Linked DNA regions of Homo sapiens: all the other regions are linked to region 5. Evidence: promoter capture Hi-C in 16 types of primary human blood cells and fetal thymus (Javierre and others, 2016). All regions are on one chromosome and are shown on one strand. Each heading gives the region's core, a stretch centred on a gene start or on the middle of the fragment in contact. The rest is flanking DNA. Distances are from core to core; before and after follow the strand shown. Region 1 has its middle 31 kb from the start of APTX. Region 2 overlaps APTX (aprataxin). Region 3 has its middle 50 kb from the start of APTX. Region 4 has its middle 73 kb from the start of APTX. Region 5 holds the start of TMEM215 (transmembrane protein 215). Region 6 has its middle 8.6 kb from the start of NDUFB6. Region 7 has its middle 27 kb from the start of NDUFB6.

Evidence for each region. The method cuts DNA at HindIII sites, captures the fragments that hold promoters and counts their contacts. A CHiCAGO score of 5 or more calls a contact.
Region 1: a fragment that was not itself captured here is called in contact with the fragment with the promoter of TMEM215 in region 5 in 2 of 17 cell types (M2 macrophages and M0 macrophages); the score reaches 10.2 in M2 macrophages.
Region 2: a contact is called between a fragment that was not itself captured here and the fragment with the promoter of TMEM215 in region 5, in 1 of 17 cell types (M2 macrophages). The highest score is 7.4, in M2 macrophages.
Region 3: a fragment that was not itself captured here is called in contact with the fragment with the promoter of TMEM215 in region 5 in 2 of 17 cell types (M2 macrophages and M0 macrophages); the score reaches 11.8 in M2 macrophages.
Region 4: a contact is called between a fragment that was not itself captured here and the fragment with the promoter of TMEM215 in region 5, in 2 of 17 cell types (M0 macrophages and M2 macrophages). The highest score is 5.4, in M0 macrophages.
Region 6: a contact is called between a fragment that was not itself captured here and the fragment with the promoter of TMEM215 in region 5, in 1 of 17 cell types (M2 macrophages). The highest score is 11.1, in M2 macrophages.
Region 7: a contact is called between a fragment that was not itself captured here and the fragment with the promoter of TMEM215 in region 5, in 2 of 17 cell types (M2 macrophages and M0 macrophages). The highest score is 10.2, in M2 macrophages.

Annotation. Positions count from the first base shown.
Region 1 is chr9:32,968,500-32,972,183 of GRCh38, reverse strand. No RefSeq gene overlaps it. Among named protein-coding and RNA genes, the nearest start is that of APTX, 31 kb to the left of the region's middle. The HindIII fragment of the contact is 1,637 bases long and covers 1,332-2,968 here.
Region 2 is chr9:32,985,912-32,989,323 of GRCh38, reverse strand. APTX (aprataxin) reads left to right here. Exons shown (of 8, transcript NM_001195248.2): 3 at 1,195-1,241; 4 at 1,478-1,780; 5 at 3,294-3,353. Among named protein-coding and RNA genes, the nearest start is that of APTX, 14 kb to the left of the region's middle. The HindIII fragment of the contact is 2,055 bases long and covers 1,117-3,171 here.
Region 3 is chr9:32,949,459-32,953,118 of GRCh38, reverse strand. No RefSeq gene overlaps it. Among named protein-coding and RNA genes, the nearest start is that of APTX, 50 kb to the left of the region's middle. The HindIII fragment of the contact is 8,010 bases long and covers 1-3,660 here.
Region 4 is chr9:32,926,224-32,930,187 of GRCh38, reverse strand. It overlaps the pseudogene BOLA3P4. Among named protein-coding and RNA genes, the nearest start is that of APTX, 73 kb to the left of the region's middle. The HindIII fragment of the contact is 2,288 bases long and covers 965-3,252 here.
Region 5 is chr9:32,781,870-32,785,828 of GRCh38, reverse strand. It overlaps TMEM215 (transmembrane protein 215), which reads right to left and starts at 2,289. Exons shown (of 2, transcript NM_212558.3): 1 at 2,024-2,289; 2 at 1-1,703. The coding sequence starts at 1,645. The coding sequence ends at 938. LOC105376017 (a long non-coding RNA gene) reads left to right here and starts at 2,923. Exons shown (of 7, transcript XR_929559.2): 1 at 2,923-3,186. The HindIII fragment of the contact is 4,873 bases long and covers 475-3,959 here.
Region 6 is chr9:32,580,001-32,583,479 of GRCh38, reverse strand. No RefSeq gene overlaps it. Among named protein-coding and RNA genes, the nearest start is that of NDUFB6, 8.6 kb to the right of the region's middle. The HindIII fragment of the contact is 7,368 bases long and covers 1-3,479 here.
Region 7 is chr9:32,598,459-32,602,250 of GRCh38, reverse strand. No RefSeq gene overlaps it. Among named protein-coding and RNA genes, the nearest start is that of NDUFB6, 27 kb to the right of the region's middle. The HindIII fragment of the contact is 2,527 bases long and covers 859-3,385 here.

The DNA of each region.
Region 1 (3,684 bases), core at 901-3,400, 190 kb before region 5:
CCTGGGCACTATCCAAAGTTGGTATTGATTCTGATGCATCAACTCATTATTTTTCTTATCAATTGAACAGTATAAATGCAAGACTAACAGCAGAAGCCATAGAACCCAGGGGCCTTGGACCTGTGCTGATCAAAAGCTTTCCGTGGCATTTCATTGATTTCCCTGAGATCAGCCAGTTCCTTTAGCCCTTTTTGTCCATCTCTCATTCCCAACATCTTTCATCTCTTTTCTCTGCTCCTTCTGCACTCCAGGATTGTAATCCTTAGGTCATTAGTCCATCCATCCATAGTTCTTCTATCTGGCTTGATGCTGGACCTTTGGGCCTGCTTGATTGTCTGCTTCGTCTCCTGAGGTGGTTGTCTACATACACTGTGGCTCCTGGACGTTCTTCCCCAACCCAGCTGCAGAGGGCATGTGGCTTCATAGCCTTTTATTTGCTGTCATCAGGTACCAGGCACAGAAACTCTTGAAAATTGTCTGGGCACGGTGGCTCACGCCTGTAATCTCAGCACTTTGGGAGGCCGAGGCGGGCAGATCACAAGGTCAGGAGATCGAGACCATCCTGGCTAACATGGTGAAACACCGCCTCTACTAAAAATACAAAAAAAAAATTAGCCGGGCATGGTGGCGGGCACCTGTAGTCCCAGCTACTTGTGAGGCTGAGGCAGGAGAATGGTGTGAACCCAGGAGGCGGAGCTTGCAGTGAGCCGAGATTGTGCCACTGCACTCCAGCCTGGGTGACAGAGTGAGACCCCATCTCAAAAAAAAAAAAAAAAAAAAAAAAAAAATCATGGGCATATTAGTTAAAAACAGGCTCTGGATTCAGACCTGGGTTCCAGTCCTGGCTCTGCTACTCACAGCTGAGGGATCTTGGGCAAGTTACTTATTTTCTCTGAACTTTGGAATTCACATATGTAAATGAGCATAACAGAGTTGAGTTATAAGGATTAAATAATCTATGTAAAGGGTTTAGCATAGTATCTTGCATAGAGAAAGACTCAATAAATGGTAACTGGAAGCCTCTGCTTTTATCTCAGTGGAGGCTGGGAAAGAGGAATTCACCTTATCCATGCCTCTCTCTGCATCTGAAGCCTTACTGCCCCTGGAAACTTTCTAAATATGTACTCCATGGACTCCTTAGATCAGAATTACTGGTTTCCCTTTAAAAAAATGTAAGCACTTGGGCTTTACCAAATAATTACTGAATCACAATCCTGAGGGCCTAAGAATCTTCATTTTAAACCATTCAGGATGAACTTGATTTTATTGATGTTTGAGAACCACAATATAAATGAACCTTTGGCTTCAAAGCACCTTGCATTTCTGAAGCTTATGGATTTGGCTGTTCCCTGCCAGGACACAAATAGCATTTTCTGGTTAGCTGCCTGGGCCTGTCATAGGTCTGCCTTCCCTCTGCTGTGTCAGGGTTATTTCAGAGTCTGGGGAGACCTCCGGCATTAGCTGAAGGGGAGTCCCTCGTTACAGGGATCAGCCCTTCCTTTCTTCAGGAGTTTGGCAGAGCTCCTTTGGCCCCAGGCTCTTAGGAGCCATGTCTGGAGATGACTTCCCCTCAGTTGCTCCCGTTCCCTCTTCATGCCCAGAGATCAGTCCAGTGGCTTGGTCTGGGACCTGTAATGAACGCTGCCAGCCTTAGGCTCAGAGCGTAAGTATTTTTCCTTCTCTGGGCCTGTCTCTGAGATACCCAGGTACAAATGGTCCTTGTAGGGACTAGATCATACTTGAGATGGTAGTTAAGGATGTCTTTAGATTCAGGGATATTTTCTAGAGCCTGGCATCTGATAGTCACACAGACTGGACATGGCTGGATATCAGAGAGTTAGGACTCATCTGTCAGTGTTGGCCTAAATGCTTCCCTCTGCTTCCAACAACTCCAACTTGGAGGGAGACTTTCGCAGGGCTCTGAAGATTCTACCATAGACTAATTTTTAAAAATGTGATGAAAGCCGTGAAACCTCTTCAGCATAATGAATATTTACACATTTTGTATATGTTATCAGGGAATTTATGGAGCCACTGACGTGCTTCCATAGGGTCTGTGGACCCCAGTTTAAGAATCTCAAGAGAAAAGGGTCATTACCATGCATCTGGGATATACAGGAGGGGTCTCAGGTCACTGTGGAGGACTGGCGCCCACCACCATGCCTGGCTAATTTTTATATTTTTAATAGAGATGAGGTTTCACCATGTTGGCCAAGCTGGTCTCAAACTCCTGAGCTCAAGTGATCTTCCCACCTCAGCCTCTCAAAGTGCTGGGATTACAGGCGTGAGCCACTGCGCCAGGCTTTTTTTTTTTTTTTTTTAAATATTTTACCAACCAAGAAGAAGCATTGTAGTTCTGGCAGCCACAAGTTGAAAGCTGACACAACCCACTGCCCCCACCCCCAACTAGTACTGTTTGACATTTATTGGAGGAAAAAAACTATCATTTATTCACATTGAAGAATTAGTTACTGGCCAAAGACCTTTTGTAGAATCTTCTCCAGAAACTGTGGGAGGTCCTCCTAGAATGCTAGTTGGAGTTGCCAGGGTCCAGAGGCACCTCCATGTCCTGGGTCACCAGACCACCAGCCTTTGCGGCTCTTTCCCCAGCTGCATTCTGGAGGTAGGAAGCTGGGCCCAGGGCAGAGAAGGGGGCATCTGGGGATGTCTGAAGAGCCAGTTGAGCAGCTGAATCACAGGCATTCTCTAGGTTACAAATACATTGCTCAGAGACTAGGACTGCTTTCGAGAACCCACAAAGTGGAAGATGTTCATGACAAAGCAAGAGGGTCAATAGGTCAAATACTAAAATGTGTTCCCTCCAGCTGGCCAGGCATTAGGAAAGAGACCCAAGATGTGGGAGGGAGGCCCCAATAGGTATCTGAATCCCCCACATCCCCGCAGTAGCTCAAAGCCTCTATGTCCCCTTTATGTGAATGAGAAAAGGCATGCCCTGCAAGCAGAAGCTTTTAGCTCACACTCACTTGAGACTGAGGGCCACATAGGGTGCAACCGTACGTACAATCTTACGGTGTGGGGTCCCTGTTTCTCATGAGGTTCTCTAGGAAAGGTAGTTTTTTTGGTTCTCCATCATGTACCCAACGAAATTAAAAGAATATGGAACAAAACAGCCTTGCAATAAAATTTCGTTGAGTGAATGACACCTGTGTCAATACACTTGGAATGGATGTAGAAAAGATAACTTTTTCTGTTACATCTGAATTTGATTGGCAAGCATGTTGTCCAGTGAGTCTGCATCTTTGCCCTTAGAAACAGTTATTTTTATTTTTTAAATCCCTTTTTTTCACAGGTGTTGATCTTTAATTTTTTTTATTTAAACATTTTTTCTTGCCTTCTTCATTTTTCCTTCATATGACTTTGGAAACATTCTGATAAACATCTTACTGCCATTGTTTATGGGAAAAAAGTATATCTTACAGGTTAGAATTAGTGGAACATAAGCATGTTAATATTTTTCCACAGAATTTTCCAAATCTTTGCTAACAAAGCAAGTGATTAGGGAAACTGGGGTTTTCCGTATCTTTTCTGTGAATGGTCTATTTTCGGGGCTTGCCATGTTTGGCCACCAGATGGCAGCATTTGAACAATAAATTTTTAATTGTCTTCCACAAGACAAAGCTGTTTTTGAAGCCCTTTTATAAAGTATCTTATGTTTCAGAATCA
Region 2 (3,412 bases), core at 895-3,394, 200 kb before region 5:
CATGAAAGTCCTTGCCCTCAGAAAAAAATCCTTACCATGTACCTTGTTTTTTCCTGTAAACATGCACACTGCTGGCTGGAGTGTGACCCCCCCACAGCAAGGTTTCCCAAGGGTTCTGAACTTAGAGAGTTGGCATCTGCAGCACTGATTATGATCTTTCCTATATGAGTTAATCTAAGTGGAGGGATACAAAGCCATGCTTGAGCTGAGTAGGCCCAAGATGCAGAAGCAGTGGCTGCTTCTCTCTCTGTTCCCTTCCTCACAACAGCAACTGAAGGGGCATGTATGTGGCACCCTGTCCTCTCTGGGGAGCAGCTATGGTGGTTCTTCTTTCCTCCCTGTCTCAACTCCAGATACCTTGTTCATTTATCAGAACAGGAATGCTTAATGTTACCACTTCTCACACATGCTCAGATTGTTCTGTCTCTGCAATCATCTTTCTAGAACATTCTTTCCACTCCTTCTACCCAAAGCCACCTGAGTTTCTGTTTTCCAGGAATGTGTCTTTTACTGTTTTATCTTTTAAAGCATCTAATAGTTGTTGTTTTTCCAAAATAATAGTGGAAGCCTGATTTAATCCTTGGTCAAGAGTTCGTGTGAGAAATGGATCTTTTTTTTTTTTTTTTTTTTTTTTTTTCCTCCTGAGATAGGGTCTCACTCTGTTGCCCAGGCTGGAGTGTAGTGGTGCGATCTTGACTCACTGCAACCTCCACCTCCTGGGGCTCAAGTGATTCTCCCACCTCAGTCTCCCAAGTAGCTGGGACTACAGGCATGTGCCACCACACCTGGCTAATTTTTGTATTTTTTTGTAGAGACGGGGTATTGCCATGCTGCCCAGGCTGGGAGAAACAGGTCTTCTTTTCTGGCGGCAGAGTCTGTGATCATGAGCAGGCCAGGGGTTCTGGAATAGGGAAACTTGTGGGGATTAATTGAAGCTGCCTCATAGGGATCTTGGCAATAGCTAAGGGAGTATGTACGCTGTTGGACATTTTATGGAAGGATTTAAACCTTTAGAAATTGGTAGGATTTGGAGCTCCAGCCACCTGCAATAACAGGTGATTGCTAATAGGCCTTTAAGGAAACACCACCTGTTCAGCTGCCGCCTGTAGTGAAGCTTGTTTTCTTTAGGGAAGATAGGAGCAAGTGCCTGGTTCTTTGTTGCATTTGTGTTTAACTTTTTCCAATCTCTTTCAGTACAGTTGAAAGCAGAGTGTAACAAGGGATATGTCAAGGTAAAGCAGGTAGGTGTATTTATAACTTGGAATTTTATACTCGATGATTTTCTTATGCTGTTGACTTTAGAGTGTCTGTGCCAGCCAGTGAAGGCTTCTCTGTCATGTATGGAAGTGATGGAGTAATATAGGTGAACATAAGGCAAGGTGCTTGGCATATAGTAAGTGGTTAACATAGCAGTGGCTATCTTACTGTAGGTGCTGTTGCTATTATTATAATTATTTTCTGATTGTTTATTCCATAGGTAGGAGTCAATCCCACCAGCATTGACTCAGTCGTAATTGGGAAGGACCAAGAGGTGAAGCTGCAGCCTGGCCAGGTTCTCCACATGGTGAATGAACTTTATCCATATATTGTAGAGTTTGAGGAAGAGGCAAAGAACCCTGGCCTGGAAACACACAGGAAGAGAAAGAGATCAGGCAACAGTGATTCTATAGAAAGGGATGCTGCTCAGGAAGCTGAGGCTGGGACAGGGCTGGAACCTGGGAGCAACTCTGGCCAATGCTCTGTGCCCCTAAAGAAGGGAAAAGATGCACCTATCAAAAAGGTGAGGGTAGTGTGATTGGTAGATGATGTGGAGAAGAAATGAAATATAATGACTGCTTAATTGTTTTGTACACTTTAAAGTTCAGAAATGCGTGAGGGGTTATTAACCATGATGAAAGAGTCACTTGTTTGTGGCGTGAAAATCATTTGGATGAATGTTCCTTTATGTGCTTTTTTCTTAAATTCCTGAGGTAAGCCACCTGAAGGTACAACAATAATGGCAGTGTGTACTTAACATTGAACAACTAAAGTGGATCAGTTGTTTATGCATCTATAGAAGGTTTTCATAGATCATGTAATTCATATGCTGATGTCAAAGTGGAGAATTGGTCAGGCTGTAGCTGCAGTGAGAGAGGGCAAAGAAGGTATGACTCATACTCTGGCATTTCTCGCCTTCATTTAGAACAGCCAGCTGTGAATATAGGAAGGCTGGCTGGGTGCAGTGGTTCACGCCTGTAATCTCAGCGCTTTGGGAGGCCGAGGTGGGCAGATCACTTGAGGGTCAGGAGTTTGAGACCTGCCTGGCAAACATTGTGAAACTCCATGTCTACTAAAAATACAAAAATTAGCTGGGCCTGGTGGTACACACATGCTTGTAATCCCAGCTACTCGGGAGGCTGAGGCGGGAGGATTGCTTGAACCTGGAAGGCGGAGGTTGCAGTGAGCTGAGATTGCACCACTGCACTCCAGCCTGGGCGACAGAGCGAGACTCCATCTCAAAAAACAACAACAATAATAAAAAACAGCTGGGTGTGCTGGCTCACGCCTGTAATCCCAGCACTTTGGGAGGCCGAGATGGGCAGATCACCTGAGGTCAGGAGTTCGAGACCAGCCTGACCAACATGGCAAAACCTAATCTCTACTAAAAATACAAAATTAGCTGGGCGTGGTGGTGCATGCCTATAATCCCAGCAACTCCAGAGGCTGGGCAGGAGCATCGCTTGAACCCGGGAGGCAGAGGTTGCAGTGAGCCGAGATCACGCCATTGTACTCCAGCCTGGGCAACAAGAGCGAAACCCCATCTCAAAAAAAAAAAGAAAGAATATAGGGTCGGGTGTGGTGGCTCACGCCTGTAATCCCAGCACTTGGGGAGGTGGAGGCCAGTGGATCACCTGAGGTGAGGAGTTCAAGACCAGCATGGCCAACCTGGTGAAACTCCGTCTCTACTAAAAAATACAAAAGTTAGCTGGGCGTGGTGGTGGGCACCTGTAATCCCAGCTACTTGGGAGGCTGAGGCAGGAGAATCACTTCGGAGGTTGCAGTGATCACGCCGCTGCACTCCAGCTTGGGTGAGACAGAGTGAGACTTTGTCTCAAAAAAAAAGAGAATATAGGAAGGCAATGGAGTGAAGCAGAGTCAAGTGAATCTTGTTTAATTCTCAAAAACTAAGCTTATTTCCAAGTTTAGTTGTGCTATCACACAGTATTAACTGTTGCCAAATTTAATTATTGGCATTTGTAATTTACATTGCTTGTTTTTTTTTTTTTTTGTTTTTTTTTTTGTTTTTTTTTTAGGAATCCCTGGGCCACTGGAGTCAAGGCTTGAAGATTTCTATGCAGGACCCCAAAATGCAGGTCAGAATACAATTTTGGAATTTCAGTACATTTCATGTTGTAAATGACCACTCCACAGA
Region 3 (3,660 bases), core at 374-2,873, 170 kb before region 5:
CTAGGACTATAGGTGCATGGCACCATGTCCAGCTAATTTCAATTTTTAAATTTTTTGTCGAGATGAGGTCTCACTATGTTACCCAAGCTGGTCTCAAACTCCTACCCTAAAGTGATTCTGATCCTTCCCCACCCCACCAGCCTCCCAAAGTGTTGGGATTACAGGTTTGAGCCACCACACCTGGCCTAAGCAATTCTTGATACATTAAAAAATAGAAGAGGTATACCACAGGCCATGATATGGCTTGGATCTGTGTCCCCACCCAAATCTCATGTTGAATTGTAATCCCCAGTGTTGGCAGTAGGGCCTGGTGGGAGGTGGTTGGACATGGGGGCAGTTTCTCACGAATGGTTTAGCACCATTCCTCTAGTGCTGTTCTGCTGATAGAGTTACCATGAGATCTGGTTGTTTAAAAGTGTGTAACACCTCCCACCCTGCTCCTGCTCCAGCTGTGTAAGGCGTGCCTGTGTCCCCTTTACCTTCTGACATGATTGAAAGTTTCCTGAGGCCTCCCAAGAAGCTGAACAGGTGCCAGCATCATGTTTCCTTTACAGCCTGCAGAACTGGGAGCAAGTGAAGCCTCTTCTCTTTATAAATTACCCGGTCTCATGTAGTTCTTTTTTTTTTTTTTTTTTGGAGATGGAGTTTTCGTTCTTGTTGCCCAGGCTGTAGTGCAATGGCACAATCTCAGCTCACTGCAACCTCTGCCTCCCAGATTCAAGCGATTCTCCTGCCTCAGCCTCCCGAGTAGCTGGGATTACAGGGGCATGCCACCAGGCTGGCTAATTTTATTTATTTATTTATTTTTTGTATTTTTAGTAGAGACAGGGTTTCACCCATGTTGACCAGGCTGGTCTCGAACTCCTGACCTCAGGTGATCTGCCCACCTCGGCCTCCCAAAGTGCTGGGATTACAGGCATGAACCACTGCTCCCGACCATCAGGTAGTTCTTTATTAGCAGTGTGAGAATGGACTAATACAGGCCACAGTATTTGAACATAATTAAAATTATAAATTAATAATTTAAAAAGTATCTAAAAATCTTGACCATTTGGATGTGAAGAATTATACTGCCAGATAACTTTTGGATTATTACAGAAATCAATGCTGAACTTGCACGCTTAGTAATGTAAAGTCTAACATTTTATACAAGAATCTGTAGGATATAGCAAAAGCTATTTTCAGAATAAAGTAGATTGATTTAAATAGCTTTCATTGTACAGACAAGAGACTGAAGATAAACTCATCTTAAGAACTTAGAAAAAATATGTAAAAAATAAAGAGAAATTTAACCAAGAGAAATTAGGAAAAGGGAAGTTACAAAATTAAGGCCAAAATTAACAAAATAGAAAGCAAAAACTATGTACCAAAAGGTCATATAGGCCGGGCGCAGTGGCTCATGCTGGTAATTCTAGCACTTTGGGAGGCCAACGCGGGCGGATCACGAGGTCAGGAATTCCAGACTAGCCTGACCAACATGGTGAAACCTCGTCTGTACTAAAAATACAAAAATTAGCTGGGCGTGGTGGCACGCGCCTGTAATCCCAGCTACTCGAGAGGCCGAGGCAGGAGAATCGCTTGAACCCAGGAGGCGGAGGTTGCAGTGAGCTGAGATTGCGCCACTGCACTCCAGCTTGGGCAGAGCAAGACTCTGTCTCATAAAAAAAAAAAAAAAAGTTATTTAAATTCAGAAGTTGGTTTTTTTGAAAAGAGCAATAAAGTAAATAAACTCATCACTAACCAGGTTAAAGAAAAAAGAAAGCACAATTATATGATATTTTGAGTAAGAAAGAGACATAACTGAAGGGGGCCTGCCCCTCCACACGTGTGGGTATTTCTCGTCAGGTGGGACGAGAGACTGTGAAAAGAAATAGGACACAGAGACAAAGCATAGAGAAAGAACAGTGGGCCCAGGGGACCGGCACGCTCAGCATGCGAGGACCTGCACCGGCACTGGTCTCTGAGTTCCCTCAGTATTTATTGATCATTATTTTTACTGTCTTAGCAAGGCAAGTGTAGCAGGGCAACAGGTGAAGGTCAGCAGGGAAACATGTAAGCAAAGGAATCTGTATCATGAATAATTTCATGGAAAGGTACTGTGCCTGGATGTGCACATAGGCCACATTTATGTTTCACTTTACACAAACATCTCAGTGTAGCAAAGAGTAACAGAGCAGTATTGCTGCCAGCATATCTCGCCTCCAGCCACAGGGTGGTTTTCTCCTATCTCAGAATAGAACGAATGGGAATGGTCGGCTTTAAACCGAGACATTCCATTCCCAGGTATGCGCAGGAGACAGAAGCCTTCCTCTTATCCCAACTGCAAAGAGGCCTCCCTCTTTCACTACTCCTCCTCAGCACAGACCCTTCAGGGATGTCGGGCTGGGGGATGGTAAGGTCTTTCCCACAAGGCCATATCTCAGGCTGTCTCGGTTGGGGGAAACCTTGGACAATACCCAGGCTTTCTTGGGCAGAGGTCCCTGCGGCTTTCCGCAGTGCATTGTGTCCCTGGTTAATCGAGAATGGAGAATGGTGATGAATTTTACCAAGCATACTGCCTGCAAACATATTGTTAACAAGAAACATCCCGCACAGCCCTAAATCCGTTAAAGTTTGATTCAATACAGCACATGTTTCTGTGAGCACAGGGTTGGGGCTAAAGTTACAGGTTAACGGCATCTCAAAGCAAAACAATTTTTCTTCGTACAGATCAAAATGGAGTTTCTTATGTCTTCCTTTTCTACATAGACACAGTAACAATCTGATCTCTCTTTCTTTTCCCCACGCATAACCACAGAAATAGAAAAGGTTAAAAATGATTTAAAGAGAATGTTGGTTGGGCATAGTGGCTCACATCTGTAATCCCAACACTTGGTGAGGCTGAGGTGGGCAGATTGCTTCAGCCCAGGAGTTTGAGACCATCCTGGGCAACATAGGGAGAACCCCCATCTCTATAAAAAATTTAAAAATTAGCTGGGTTTAGATGGCATACACCTGTAGTCCCAGCTACTTGGGAGGCTGAGGTGGGAGGATTGCTTGAGCCCAGCAGGTCAAGGCTGCAGTGAGCTGTGATCACACCACTGCACTCCAGCCTGGGCAACAAAACTGTCTCAAAAAAAAAAAAAAAAAAAGAGAGAGAGAGAGTGTTAACTTGAACTCTAACTATTTGGAAATATTGAGGATTTCCTAGCAAAATATAAATGAATAAAAGTGACATAAAGAGAAGCTGAAAACTTGAACAGACTCATTACCATAAGAGGTTGGAGAAATGATTATAGCTCTATCCTTAAAAAAGAGCTGGTGCCAGGTGATTTCCCAGCTCAATGTGACCTGACTATTTTTTAAAAAGCAGGTAATACAGTGTTATTTAAACCAGTACATATCAAACATCAATAGGAATCACCTGGAAATCTTGTTAAACTGCACACTGTGATTCAATAGGTCTGAGGTGGAACCTGAAATTCTGTATTTCTTAAAAGCTGTCAGACGGTGATGCTGATGTTACTGGTCCATGCTCTTTGCACTGCAAGGATTTAAATGACTCAAGACCATAAAACAGGCCGGGCGGTGGTTCACACCTGTAATCCCAGCACTTTGGGAGGCTGAGGTGGGTGGATCACTTGAGGTCAGGACTTCCTAACCAGCCTGGCCAACATGGTG
Region 4 (3,964 bases), core at 859-3,358, 140 kb before region 5:
GAGCTCAGGAATTTGAGACCAGCCTGGGCAACATGGTGAAACCCCGTATCTACAAAAAATACAAAATTAGCCAGGTGTGGTGGCACACAACTCTAGTCCCAGCTATTTGGGAGACTGAGGTGGGAGGATGGCTTGAGCCCAGGAGGTCAAGGCTGCAGTGAGCCATGATCGTGCCACTGCACTACAGCCCTGGGTGACAGAGCGATACCCTGTCTCAGAAAAAAAAGAGTGACTTTTAAAATAGCAATATCTGTAATAATTTGAACTTACGGTTACATTTACAGGATTGTAGTGCTCACTGCGGTCTTTTTATTCCATAACATCCATGCTCTGGTTTCCATCTGTGGCTGGAGCGAGGCCTGTCAGGAGTTTCCCTGGAAGGTTGCGTGGTGGTGAACCCCAAGGCCTTGCACGTCTGAGCATGCACAAGTTGCTTTTCATGGGAAACACAGCTTAACTGGTGGGGAACTGTTGGATTATATCTTTCCCTCTTAAAATTCTAGCTTTTGTGTTGTGGGCAAAGGTTAGCCTGACTTTTCTTCTTTGTAGGTAATTTTGTTTTTGCTGCTTTGATGCTTCCAGGATTAATTTCTTACCTTAGAGTTCATTATTTGCATCTTGGTATGTCTGGAAGCTGGTCTTTTGCCATTTAATTCCACCTGGCTCCTAATGAGTCTTTTTCATCTAAGGATGTAATTCTTTCTTTTTTAGTTCAGGCAGGTTTTTTTCTCTTTCTTTATATGATTGTTCTGTCTTTTCTATTTGTTTTGGTCTTTAGGCACATACGTTCTTCATATGTTAGATCGTCAGTCTGTTTTCGGTATCTATTTTCTTTCTCATAATTTTATCTCTGTTCTATTTCTTTAGCTTTCTGGGAAAGCATCTCAAATTTGTCCAAACATTATTGATTTAATTTTTTGCCGTTTTGATTCTACTCTGCATTTCTTCCAGTTTTCTGTAAGCTTTTGTCATCACATATCTGGTATCACAACATTCTTCCTGCTCTCATTTTAGGCTGTCTGGCTCTTAGCCAGACTCTTTTCCGACTCAGGCGGCTGCCTTAACACCTTGTCCCAGACATGTCCATATGGGCCTGCCCTGCTCACAGCCCTTAAGAGGACCCTGGAGGGGCAAGCCCAGCACACCAGAGGCATCTCTCTCCTGCACTGGCTTTGGCTGATGGGACCAGGGATGTACATTTGAACTCAAGAGGCTTCATCTTTCACAAATTTGAAAAAAGCGACAGAGAGGAAAGTAGGCAAGTTGTTTAGGCACTAATATTTTATTGAATTCACTTTTTAAAAAAAACTTAGTGAATATGCGAAACATATGTACAGTGAATACTCAGGTATGCATGCAATATCACACTTAAAACTCTCTGTTCCTTGCCTGAATTTTGACTCTGGACCCCATCTTGTTAGATTGGTGGGAATTCACTTAATTTTTTTAATGGACTTTCTCATTCCAGGTTGGTAAAAAGGAGGTCTCACACATCTTTAGGACATTGGGGTGGAAGCCCCAGGCATTGGTTCTCAGTCTGTTCTGATTATTACTGAGCCGTCTTGCACCGCACCTTCCGGTCCTAGGTCTGCTGTTTCTGTGCCAGGCATGGCGTGTGCAGCATTTTGGCATAACTGGGAACCTCTCAGCGATTCCTCTTGGAGGGCTTACATCTCCAGGCTTCGCCAGTGAGAGGGCTGTGGTCTTATCTACTTGTAGGCTTCTGGGAATCTTTTCTTGGTTTTAGGGAATATACTCATGTTCCTTCTTATTCCCTCAGAGACTCTTTTCTCCCTCAGGACATTTGGCAAATCTCCAACCGCTTTAGGTTTTGGAGCCAACAATCAGGAAGGGAAGCATTGCAGCAGCTTCTGCTTTCTGCCCTGCCGTAAACCTCCACAAGGAAGGAAGCACAGAGCCTGTTACTGCTTGAGAGAGAAAAAGATAAGAAGGAAACAGGTTGGGCAGGGCGTGGTAGCTCATACCTGTAATCCCGGCACTTTGAGAGGCTGAGGAGGGAGGATTGCTAGAGTTCAGGAGTTCAAGACCAGCCTAGACAATGTAGTGAGCCCCTGTCTTAAAAAAAAAAAAAAAAGATGAAAAGAAAAGGAGGAAACACAAATTTATATTATGTAATGTTATGCTAATGTATTGCTTCTGGATTTCTATGTTTTACATTAAAAAAAAAACAGATCCCACTATATAGTTACTATTGTTTCTTTTTTGAGACGGAGTTTTGTCCTTGTTGCCTGGGCTGGAGTGCAATGGCACGATCTCTGCTCACCGCAACCTCCGCCTCCCGGGTTCAAGCAATTCTCCTACCTCAGCCTCTGGAGTAGCTGGGATTATAGCTGGGATTATGTGCACCACCAGGCCTGGCCAAGTTTTTGTATTTTTTTTTTTTTTTTTTTTTTGAGACGTAGTCTCGCTCTGTCGCCCAGGCTGGAGTGCAGTGGCGCAATCTCGGCTCACTGCAAGCTCCGCCTCCCAGGTTCACGCCATTCTCCTGCCTCAGCCTCCCGAGTAGCTGGGACTACAGGCGCCCGCCACCACGCCCGGCTAATTTTTTGTATTTTTAGTAGAGACGGGGTTTCACCATGTTAGCCAGGATGGTCTCGATCTCCTGACCTTGTGATCCACCCGCCTCTGCCTCCCAAAGTGCTGGGATTACAGGCTTGAGCCACCGCGCCCGGCCAGTTTTTGTATTTTTAGTAGAGACGGGGTTTCTCCATGTTGGTCAAGCTGGTCTTGAACTCCCGACCTCAGGTGATCCACCCGCCTCAGCCTCCCAGAGTGCTGGGATTACAGGTGTGAGCCACCGTGCCCGGCTATTGTTTGTTTTTATTCAAACTTGATCTATGAGATTCTATCCAAGATGGTGTTGTAAGGATATTTCTTGGGTATTCTCACTTCTAGATGCTTTTAGGATCTCCCTCCTAACTGGAGCTGGAGGCTGGTTCCTTGCTCAGCGATGGCACAGCCTGAGAGAAATGTGTAGGCTGTTAAGCCTTGGTCAGGCCTGGTGGGACATATGGCACAACCGTCTTCGTTTGAGGAAATGACTGTGCTGGGAGTCAGACTTGCTGCCGCCGGGCTTTTTCCTCACGCTCCTGCCAGCTTTTTCAGGGAAGGAAATGCCCTGTGTCCTGCCCAGCCTCTTCTGGACATTGCTGTTGCTGTCTCGGGGCTGAGCCTTGCTGCACTGGGAAGATGTGCCTCCTGCTTCCACTGCTGCTGCTCTGGTTTGAAGCTTATGCCCTGGGCCCCCAGCCCTCCTACCTTCTTAGGCCCTTAGATCCACTGCTCTAAAGTTCCTCCGAGAGAGTGGATGTTGAGGGGATTCAGGTTCTCCTCTAAGTCCTTCCCACCAGACACACTAATTTTCTATGAGACGTCAGTTGGACATTGGCTTTTGTCCCCTTTCTTCATTTTGGCTACCAATATCATTATCTCTAGAATAATTTTTTGGCTCATGGATGGTACCTTTCCTTAATTTCTAGCACCAATGAGATTTGTCCCAGTTTTACATTTCCTTAGTCATTTCAGACACCTATGCTCAGATCTCCATCTGTTTTTTGAGTTGAACATCTTTTCCCACCTCTCTCCTCCACCAGTTGTCTGTTGCCTTTAATTAACCTCTAAATAGATAACACATTCTTCTTTAATTGTAGTATGGAAATGTCTACGAACAAAACAGATACTTTTTTTTTTTTTTTTTTTTTGCAAATGCGTAGGAAAGAGTGGTTCCAGTCAAGTTCATCCGAAGTTTTAGGCAGCTGCATCTACACAGCCCCGGGGGCATGGAGGTCAGTGTCTGGGGACAGAGGTAAATACCCACCATCTGTGCATCCCTTTGATTTTCCTTTTTTAGTGCCTGATTAATCATCTGGTGCTGAGGGACAGTTCTTGTTTCTTTAAATTCTTCTGGTTTGATTTGGATTTTATACATCACCTACAGCCTCCT
Region 5 (3,959 bases), core at 1,040-3,539:
CTTTATAGTTTTCAGATTTTAAAAGGTATGTAGGAATGGTAATTATCAGTACATGTCTGCCAATGTTAAAGACTTGGATATATATGTAAAATTCATTTTGTCTTGATGAAAACAAATTCCAATCTATGAAAGTATCATTTCAAATAATGTTGCACCTGGTAAGGAAATAATACATGAATGATAGTAAATGTTTAGAAAAAACCCATTTCAGATAAAGATGCAATAAATGGATTTAAACGAAGAGTTTAAGAAGTAACATAGCCATCTAAAAATGTTAACTTTTCACATAGCTGCTCACACTTATTTTACTTTATTAGAGACCATGATCTTGTCAGACAATAATGCCACAAGACTCAGTTACATAATCCAACTCTCTTTAACTACCCTTTTCCCAAAAACCATCCCATCTAAGGAGGGTTTAACTCTTGTATCTTGATTTTTTTTTCTTTCAGCAAATACCAAGTGTGATAAGCTTTTAACCAGGCAAAAATTACTTTATATAACGGATCATTAATTTTATTTTCAACTTATTCAAACATAAAGCAGCTCAGTTTCCCTGTGGTCAGCTCATGCATCATTTGATGCCTCACATCTGCAGCCCACTCTAGATTTATCTTGCTCTCAGCTGGTTCTGGATAGCACTTTTTGGGTTATTTTACAAAACATTTAACATTGTGTAAATTGTTAAGAAGCAACTGGAGTAGCTTCCTTTCCTACCCACTGCCTCTTCCAGTGTCCTTAACCCTCATCGCCCTTCCCTAAAATGTGTCCCCAACATGCCTATTTACATGACTCTCGGGTACCAGAGGTTATCACACCCATCACATACCAGGTCAATTTCTAACAGTGTGAAGGCTCTCCAAGCAGAGCAATTTGCTTCCACGGGGAGCTGGGCTTAGTCATATTCTATCAATCCAGCCACCTTTGTAGGCAGAGATTAGACGATGGTCTCGTGGTCCCACCTGCCTTGTATCTGATTGATATAACAACAGTATCTGTCATACGGGCTGTTCTGCTTGTAGGAGCAAACGATGATACTGTCCTGGGGCACAAAGAAGATGCTATCCTCAGGCTCAGGGCACTCAGATCTGTCCCTTGCTGAGCACTTGACGTCCAAGGCACTGTAGGTGAGGGAACTGCCCGAGGGGCAGTAGCCGTCCAGGTATCTGGACGTCTCCTCCTGATGCCCATTCTGGACGAGGCTCTGGCATTCTCCTTCCTCCGTGGGTGTGGGGCTGTTGATGGAGCTGGCCACGGACACCTCACCCTGGCTTTGTGGGGGAGGCTTCCCCCTGAGGCCCGCCTTCTTAGCCAGCTCATCTGAGCTCCCCTTGCCGGATTCTAGGTCTGAAGGGGTCCTCAGCAGCTCTACCACCTCCTTGTCTTTGGGTTTCCGGAAGCAGGGCAATTTGCGGACCCACAGCAGCTCGTTCTCTGGCCACTTGGTGCATCCCTCGGTTTTCCTGGCCAGGGCAATGGCTGCGATGCCTGGTAGGCAGATGGCTGGCCCGATGGCCAGGAGGGGGATGTTTCCCAAAGTCTCCCCTTTCATCCCAGAGACGGTGAACATGAAACCAAAGACGAGGAAGACACTGACCAGGGCCACCACCAGCCCAGTCCTCGGGTTAATGTCATCAGGCCGCATGTTTCACTCCATCCAGGTTGGGGGCTGCTTGCTGACCAGGGAGCAGCGTTCCTCTATTCTGTCAGAGATGAAACCACAGTGCGTTAAAAAAAAATCCAAGTCAAGCTCCCACCCATCAACTCTTGTCTTTCTCTTGCCCTTTGTCTCCGACTTGCTTCTTGACTTTCAGTCTTGATCTCTGTCTCTGTATCTCTCTTGCAATCTCTCTATCTCTCTCTCTGCGTTTCTCTTGCAATCTCTCCCTGTTTCTATTTCTACTCTTTCTCTCCGTCCCCTCTCCCTCCCTCCCTTTCTTGTGCCCTCCCTCTCTTCCTCTCACTATTGCAACCTCCGTCTCTCTCTCATATCAACACGCTCCGGCTGGGGTCAACGAGGTACCTGAGGTTTCCTGCCCTCTCCAGGAAGTAGGGAAAGAAGCCAGGCTGTCTCCTCAGAAGCCCCCACAGCAGCTGCCCCCTCGGCTCGCTCCCTTGGTTCTGGGAGGAAAGCCTGGTTTCCCCCACGGACTCTGCATCGGGGAGGTGGAACCTGGGAGAGCGGCTCTCCCAGCAGTGCCCGTCGGTCCCGGTGCTGTGCAAGCGGAGCCCGGCGCCAGCTCAGCGCGCAGAGCGCGGGGCGCGGGAGGAGGAGGGAGCACTGAGTCTGGGAAAGAGGGGACGCGGCGCGAGCCTGGCCTTGTTACATCACTGTCAGAGCAGGCTCAGAAACGCAGACAGACGCGCGGGGGCGCGAGGGGGTCAGCCCCAGAGGGAGGCCACCCGGCGGCAGGCGCTGCCCGGGGTCTCGTCGGGGCTGCTGGGAGCGGCCGGGGTTTGTGCCGCCGCCGTTCCGGAGGCTGAGCAGGGCGACCTGACCCGCTTCCGTGCCCGGGAAGGGTCTGGGGCGCGAGGCTGCCAGTGGCCGGAGTCGGAAACCAGGGTCGGTTTGCCCACGGGGCAGCCGTTGCAATATCCGAGCTCGGGCTCCCAGTCCGGGATCCGAGGAGTTAGGTGCCAGCTGGAGATGTCCCTCCGGGACCCGCACCCTTCTCCAGTTACAAATCCGGGTGACTGACGGCAGGCCCAGGGGCTCCCCGACCGCCCTTCTCTCAACCCCTCGACTCGGGGCGCGGGGGGGTGTGTGTCCCTCGGGGAGCCGGTGCCCGAGGACTGCTTTGGTCCCGGCTCTGGGCGGTGGCGGCGCGCGAAAGCGCTCTTGCAGCGGAGCGACTGCGCCGCGGGAGCGCACAGAACCAGCGCCCAGGCGGAGTGGGTTAGTGGTGAGGGGTGGGTGCCAGGCTAGTCCGGGCCTTGGGGGAGTCCCCGGAGTCCCCGTGGCTTTCCAGCTCCAGGCTCGGGAGAGGGTGACCTTGGAGCCGGGATTTCACTTCTACAGCGCTGTGGTGCCGGGGGGACAGGGAGAAGGGCTCCCTGGCCCCCAGTTCACGAGGAGAAGGGGCCTTGACCGGTCAGGACCACCACCCTACGACGCCGCTCAGCTCTGGGCGATTCTCTCCTCCCTTGCTGAAGCAGGCATTGAGAGCCTGCGTTCCTCCCGCTCTGGTAGGCAGGGGCAGATGGATTCCTCTGGCCCCGGGGGGCAAGACTGGCTTTGGCTGTGATTCTTCAACAGGGCTGCCCATTTAGGATAGAGGAGGGCGGTGGAGAACAGGTTGATGAGCGGTACATGCTTTCATGTCAAGACACTGATTTACTGGAAAGAATTTTCACATCCAGGCCTTCCCCAGTTAAACTAGCTGTATATTCCTGGGCAAGTGACTTAACCTCTCTGAGAATCAGTCGTCCTATCTGTAAAATGAGATTAATACCAAATATATGAGGAAACATTGTGAGGATTAAATAAACGTAAAGTTCCTAGCACAATGCTTGGTACATAGTCTGTGTACAAAAATTACACACACATGCACACACGTACACATGTATATGTATATATATTTGTCATCATAATTAGTGTCTTCATCATGTATGACAGGAGCCAAACAAATCATAAAGGCTGTGAGACTAAGGACTTTTTATCCACTAGGCAATGAAGAACGCTTGATGTATTTTAAGCAAAGATCAATACAAAAACATTCCAGTTTGACTGAAAGGGGCGGCAGGTGAGAGCATAGGTTGGAGCTGGTAAGTCTGGAAGCCGGGAGTCTTGTTCAGTAAGCTGAGAAGTTCAGTAAGCCGGGCAAGACATGATGTGGCCTTAACAATGTCGGGCTGGTAGAGGAGTTGGAAGGAAGCAGATCTGAGGGTATTTAAGGGTTGAGTGAAGTGTCTTGGAGCACAGTGAAGTGAGATGAAGGGAGGAGCCAAGGTCAACTCCC
Region 6 (3,479 bases), core at 32-2,531, 200 kb after region 5:
ACCCTCCAAGTTGCGATAGTAATAAAATATTAGAACAATTAAAAGTCATAATAAATGCTTTTCCATTTGGCCTATTTATTACCTCACCTACTAAAGGAAGTGTCATGTGAAGTGTGCTACGAGGTGACTGTCTTCACTACCTCCCTACATCTGAACGACTATGAAACCTTTATTCATATAAAGTGCCAGAACATTACAGGGCCTCCTCTTGGCTCCCACATAATTGTAAACACTCATACGGTTTGGGTATTTGGTTATAAGGTGGTTATCCAAGTGATCTAGAATATACTCACGCCAGAGTTTTAAAATCATCATTGAAATGAAAACACAAAGTTCAGAAACTTTTGCAGAGAACTCGAGGGCTCCTGTGTTACAAAGTTAGTGATTTTAATCAGTTGCTCTTTCCTTTGTTTTGTTTTGCTTTTGTTTCTGAGACGGAGTCTAGCTGTCGCCCAGGCTGGAGTGCAGTGGCGCGATCTCGGCTCACTGCCAGCTCCGCCTCCCGGGTTCACGCCATTCTCCTGCCTCAGCCTCCCGAGTAGCTGGGACTACAGGCGCCCACCACCACGCCCGGCTAATTTTTTTGTATTTTTAGTAGAGATGGGGTTTCACCGTGTTAGCCAGGATGGTCTCGATTTCTTAACCTCGTGATCCGCCCCCCTCGGCCTCCCAAAGTGCTGGGATTACAGGCGTGAGCCACTGCGCCGGGCCAATCAGTTGCTCTTTCTGAAGAGAGTTTCACTGGCACCGCACCACTTGCCACTGAGAGCGCTGGGGTCCAACTAGAAGTCAAATTTGAGCAAATGAATATTGTTTTAGACTACTAAATGTTTAAGACGTCAGACAAGTGATTCTGCTCTACTAATATCAGAAGGATAAGAAGACAGTGGTAGTCAAGCCCATTGTGCTCCCCAGATGGAAACTAATATTCAACTAAAGGTGCAGCTCAAAACTCCGTCTCTGGTACACTGTGTGTGACCGTCTGCCCTATAAGTAGCAAACTCCACCATGAATTGCTGATGCCATTAGTTTCTGTGTATCTCCAAAACACTGACCAGAAAATTCCACAGTAGGGATTTGTAAGAGAATGCCCTCGCTTGTGCATCTTCACAGATTTTTCTGATCAACATGAGCAAGTTTGCCTCCTTGTCCCCTTGAAAATAATAATGTCTTGTGTGGTTGGGTGAAGCTATATATATATATATTTTTTGTTTTGTTTTGTTTTGTTTTGTTTTTGCTAAAAAAAGAATCTTACAGGGAGATAAAGGGATTTCTGGAGGAATTAATTTTTTTTTCAATTATGTGGGACAAATGGTGCTTAAAATGAAGATAGGACAAAGGCTCTTAAATTTTTGACTGAACAATGGAAAGGGAACTTGGATGTGGAACTCCCATCTCCATTCCTGGTTGCAGACTCAGTCTGACGGGGAGGTCTTGCACTCAAAGCTGTCTTCTCTCCACAGCCTCTGAAATCCACGGCCTGTGTGCCCCAATTAGTACACTCTGCCAGGGGACAAATGAAGCACCCTACTGGCTTTTAAAAACATAGCTGGAGGTGTAGACCCTTATTAGACAGATCCAAAGTTTAAGACATAACCTTACTGACAGAAGACACCTCCTCATCTTATTTCCTGGCCCCATCTCTTCCCTGCCCACTGTGCTTTAGCTCCTTTGAGTTTTGTGGGCTGGTTACTGAGGCCTTAGATAAAATGCAATTTACCTGTATTTCTAATTTTTCAGCAAGTTAGAGTGCCCTCTGGTGGGAATGTCTCCAGTAGTTACCCAGGTCTTGCAGACTATCTGAATTTGTGAGTCCACATTTTCTGCTTGTGCTAAGCTGAACACGGTCTCTCACTGCTCCCTTTTTATTCAACTCAGCCTCATGAGTTTCACAGCCAGAGATAAGTGAGAAAGGATGGAAATGTGGTCATCAGTAGCCAGTGGTATATTTTTCTAAGCAATATTGATTTTATTTATGTTTATTTTCAAATGTGGTAGTGGTGGGGAGTGGGGAGGATGTAGTAATTTCCCAGAGTAAGCCAGAATGATGGTTCCAAATTCAAGAAATACTAAATGTATTTAACTCCACTCGCAAAGGAAACATTTGGGTTATCAAATGACTCATTGTGTAACTAAGTGTCCTGTTTTTAAAAGTTTTTCTCTCTCTCTTTCCTGCCCGTTCCTTGTCTTGCCTTTAACAATGAGATAATAGTCTTTGCTCTCACTCTTTCTCCCAGGCACCCCTTTGCACAGTGTTTCCCTTATCTAATTACGTGTTTGTTTAGAAGTTCCAGAGACTAAATCTTAAAGCAATTCAGTCTACTGTGGGATTCTCCCCCACCTGGAGATTACTTCAAGGCTGCAGTTAATTTGCAACCTGGCTGTCCCAGAGATGGCACTAGCCCACACACCAGATGGGGCAACAGCTCAAGATAGTCATCAGAACAAGTCACATAGGCTGACCCCTATCACCACTCCTGCATGCCCATCATACCAAACTCCCCTTTAGCCTTTACCCTTGACCTAGAAAGCTGAAACGGTTTCTTTAAGGCACTAGCTTTGGCCATTTTTCCACTGCTAGCTCTGGAATAAAGTAACTTTCCTTTAGCTGTAGTTCATCTTTGTTATTGGCTTTGCAAGTGGTGAGCAGCTGAGCCTGCACTCGGTAACAATTGGGAACCTAAATATAGTATTTCCTGTGATGTTTAAGCACTCAGGGGCTTACTCTCCCTTTAGTATCAATTGTTCAGATCTCACCATAACAAAGTTGAGAGTTCCAATGTAAGTAGTTTGCAAAATTTTAGTCCAAAATGTAATAAGACAGACTGAGGATTAGTAATAGTTTAAATACACAGTTTAGTTACTACTTCAAGGCATTTTTTTTTGGTGGGGGGTGGGGGGGCGGGTCTTAGTATGTTGCCTAGGCTGGTCTCGAACTCCTGGGCTTACAGAATCCTCCTGTCTCAGCCTCCCAAAGCAATGAGATTAGCCACTGTGCCCAGCCTCAAGGCATAATTAAAAAATTTTTTTATTTAGAATATTTTTAAATATTTACAAAATAGTATATGAGAGACTATAATAAGCCCCCATTTAGCTATCAGATAGCTTCAACAGTTGCCAACTTATTACTAGTCTTATTTCTCTATGCCTTCTTCCTCCTTTCTCAATTATTCAGAAGTAAACTTCAGACCTCTTACCCTTTCATCTATAAATATTTCAGAAGAGATCTCTAAGAGATTAGAACTTCCTTTCAAAAATATAACCACAAATCATCATACACAAAAAAATTAATGACAATTCCCTAATATATCGAGGTAATGTTTAAATTTCCCTCTGTCTCTTTTAATCTATGGATTCTCCTCTCTCTCCTTTCTTTTTACTCAATATATTTTATAAGAAACCGAATCACTTATATGCAGTTCCTACAATCTAGATTTATCTCAATGTATCATTTTGGTGTTGTATAAGGAGCTCCTCTG
Region 7 (3,792 bases), core at 873-3,372, 180 kb after region 5:
CACAAAAATCATAGTCTCTCCTCCACTCCCATCCCTTGTTCATAGCCCTACATATTGTTTTTTGTTTTGTTTTGTTCAATTCAGGCTCACTTTGCATTCTTACAACACTGTAGATCTTTAGGTTGAGTAATTTATGGCTTAAAGCTAAATAATTATTTGCCAGCAAACTGTTCTTGAAAATATATAGCAGCATAGGAAAGGTCATGGGCTTTAGTGTTAAAACTAGGCTTTGATCCTGGGCCACCTCCTTGAGTTTGTGTTTTTAGGCAGGTTATACATTTAATCTCTCTGAGCTGACTTTTCTTCTTTATGAATGATATCAATAATCCTAAATTTGCTGTACCTGTATATGTATAAAGCACCTGGCACAAACTAGGTGCTCCTTGAGGTGGCACGGCTAATATCATTTTACTTTTTCAGATTGTTATACAAAACATCAACAAATTATTGTTTGTTACCCCAACTGCTTCTTTAGGAGGGTGAATTTTGTTACTGTAGAGTATCTTGTTTTGCAGAGCATCATGATGTCCTGGGGTCTGTAAGTTTATGAATTGAGGGAAGTGGCTAAATTGCTTGCGTAAGAAAGGGAAGGAAAAAAAATGAAAATGAAGGCAGGAGTTGGGGGTAGGATGATCAAGAATCTAGGGGAGAGAATTAAGCAGTGAAATCTGGGAGGATTCAGGGATAAAAATCCCTAGAGAGGATAAACCAGGAAGGGATTTGTGGAGGTACAAATATAGAATGTCAGTTTTTACCTTGTTTTCTTCAGGTTGTATGATATAGCTACCCTTCCTGTCCCCTCCTTCTCCTCCAGGACCCACAGAGTCTTCAGGGAAATTAACATTGCTCACTGAAGCTTTTCTGTGGCTGGATTTGGTGGAGAGCAGCAGGACTAGGAGAGGTGCTGAGTTCTGCATCCAGGTTGATGCAGTGAGGCTGAGCAGTGTGAGCAGATGCGGGAATCAGAGGACACAGGGGAGGTGACATCTGGCTTTTGGGTAGATTTCCACAGGTCTGATCATGCTCTGTATTTGCCATCTGCCAAACTTTATTGAGGAAGTCTTAAGGTCTGGGTAGATATGAAATCTCTCAGCTTGTAGAATTTCAACTACTCTTTCCATAGTGGCAGAAAAGTAGAAGTGAAGACAGTACCAGGACCATGTATCTTCTAGAGACTTAATATACCCCTGCTCTGCCTGCTTCCACCCCACCCCCATCAATGTCAGACATAAGCCATGTCTGTTCTGCACATTGGTTCAAGGTCTCCAACCAAAAGTGTTGGAGTTCGCTCTTTGAGTTCCCTTCCTACCAGTAGCCTGGCTCAGTCCTCGCAAGAAAGATGCTGTTCTGTTTCCTTAGACATCCAACTGTATAACTCTTAATTCCCTGGGGGAGCTTCCTCTTCTGTTTGCTTCTGAGTCTTAATTACTTCCCATCTCCCTTAGCAGCAGTGTTCTTATACCCTAGCCACCACCTCTCCCAGAATATTCTGTGTTGCCTTAGACCTCTTCTGCTGGTCACCATCAAAATACTCCTTCCTTCCTTCTCCACCTAGACAATCACTCATAGTTTCAAATTTCATCACAAAATTTGCTACTCTGATGTGCTCAGGAAGCTCAATTAAGGAATCAGTGTTCAGTTGCAGGCCTTGCCCTTTCATCTCTGTATACTTCTTTCCTAGGTAGTGCCATTCACAACTTGGCTTCCGTTATTGACAGGCATATGACCACAAATTTATATCACCCACACAGATTTTTCTTCCAAATTCTAGTCTCATATATCCAACTACCTATTTGATGTTCCCTATTTTAAATGTTCAAGAGCTCCCTTAATCTTCTTAAAAATTATGATGTAAGTACTTTTATTATTCTTATTTTGAAAACTAGAAAGCTGATGCTCAGAAAATTAAAATATGTTTTGTGTGTAAGTTCACACAACTGATTAATATTTGATGGAATCTGAACACAGGACTCGCTGCCCTCAAACCTTATTCTTTTATCTGGCATGTCATTACTGCCTTTGAAATATTTATATCAGGGAAACTGAGATCACTTGCTTGACATAATAATAATAATAAAAGTATTATCATCGAGAAATGAAAACAATTGATTTGAATAGGAATAAGACAACATGCTGATAATTTCAAAACTTTCAGCATGATAACAAAATTTTAGGACTGAGTTTCCTTCTTCACTACATGATATCAATAATTCTAAATTTGCTGTATTTGTATACATAAAGTGCCTGGCACAAACTTGGGATCTTTAAAAAATTTTTTTTTAATTTTTAATTTTTGTGGGTACATAGTAGATGTACATATTTATGGGATACATGAGATGTTTTGATACAGGCATACACTGTGAAATAACCACATTACGGAGAATGGAGTATCCATCCCCTCAGGTATTTATCCTTTGTGTTACAAACAATCCAATTACACTGTATTAGTTGTTTTAACGTGTACAAGTAAGTTGCTATTGACTATAGTCGCCCTGTTGGGCTATCAAATACTGGGTCTTATGCATTCTTTCCAACTTTTTTGTACCCATTAATCTCCTCCTTAGCACTCACCCCCCCACTACCCTTCCCCGCCTCTGGTAACCATCCTTCTACTCTCTCTGTCCTTGAGTTCAATTGTTTTGATTTTTAGGTCCCACAAATAAGTGAGATATTCATGAGATATTCATCTTTCTGTTCCTAGCTTATTTCACTTAACATAATGACCTCCAGTTCCATCCATGTTGTTGCAAATGACAGGCTCTCATTCTTTTTTATGGCTCAAGGACTTCATTGTGGATATGTACCACATTTTCCTTATCCATTCATCTGTTGATGGACATTTAGATTGCTTCCAAATCTTAGCTATTGTAAAAGCTGCAACAAACATACGAGTGCAGATATCTCTTCAATATGCTGATTTCCTTTCTTGTGGGTATATACCCAGCAGTGAGTTTGCTGGAGCGTATGGTAGTTCTATTTTTGGTTTTTGAGGAACTTCCACACTGTTCTCCATAGTAGTTGTACTAATTTACATTCCCATCAATAGCTTATAAGGGTTCCCTTTTTTCCACATTTTCACTAGCATTTGTTATTGCGTGTCTTTTGGATACAAGCCATTTTAACTGGGGTGAGATGATATCTCATTGTTGTTTTGATTTGCATTTCTCTGATGATCAATGATGTTGAACACTTTTTCATATGCCTGTTTGCCATTGTATGTCTTTTGAGAAATGTCTATTCAAATCTTTTACCTGATTCTTTTTATCAGATTATTTAGATTTTTTCCTATAGAGTTGTTGTCAGATGGATGGTTTGCAAATATTCTCTCACATTCTGTGGATTGTCTCTTCACTTTGTGGATTGTTTCCTTTTCTGTGCAGAAGCTTTTCAACTTTATGTGATCCCATTTGTCCATTTTTGCTTTGGTTGCCTGTGCTTGTGGGGTATTGCTCAAGAAATTTTTGCCCAGACCAAAAGTTCTGGAGATTTTCCCCAATGTTTCCGTGTAATAGTTTCATAGTATGAGGTCTTAGATTTAAGGCTTTAATCCATTTTGATTTTTTTTTTAGATGGTGAGAGATAGGGGTCTAGTTTCCTTCTTCTGCTATGGATATCCAGTTTTCCCAGCACCCCTTATTGAAGAGATTGTCTTTTTTTCCAGCATATGTTCTTGGCAACTTTGTTGAAAATGAGTTTGCTGTAGATGTGTGGATTTGTTTCTGGGTTCTCTATTCTGTTCCACTGGTGTATGTGTCTGTTTTTATGTCAGCACCACGCTGTTTTGGTTACTAT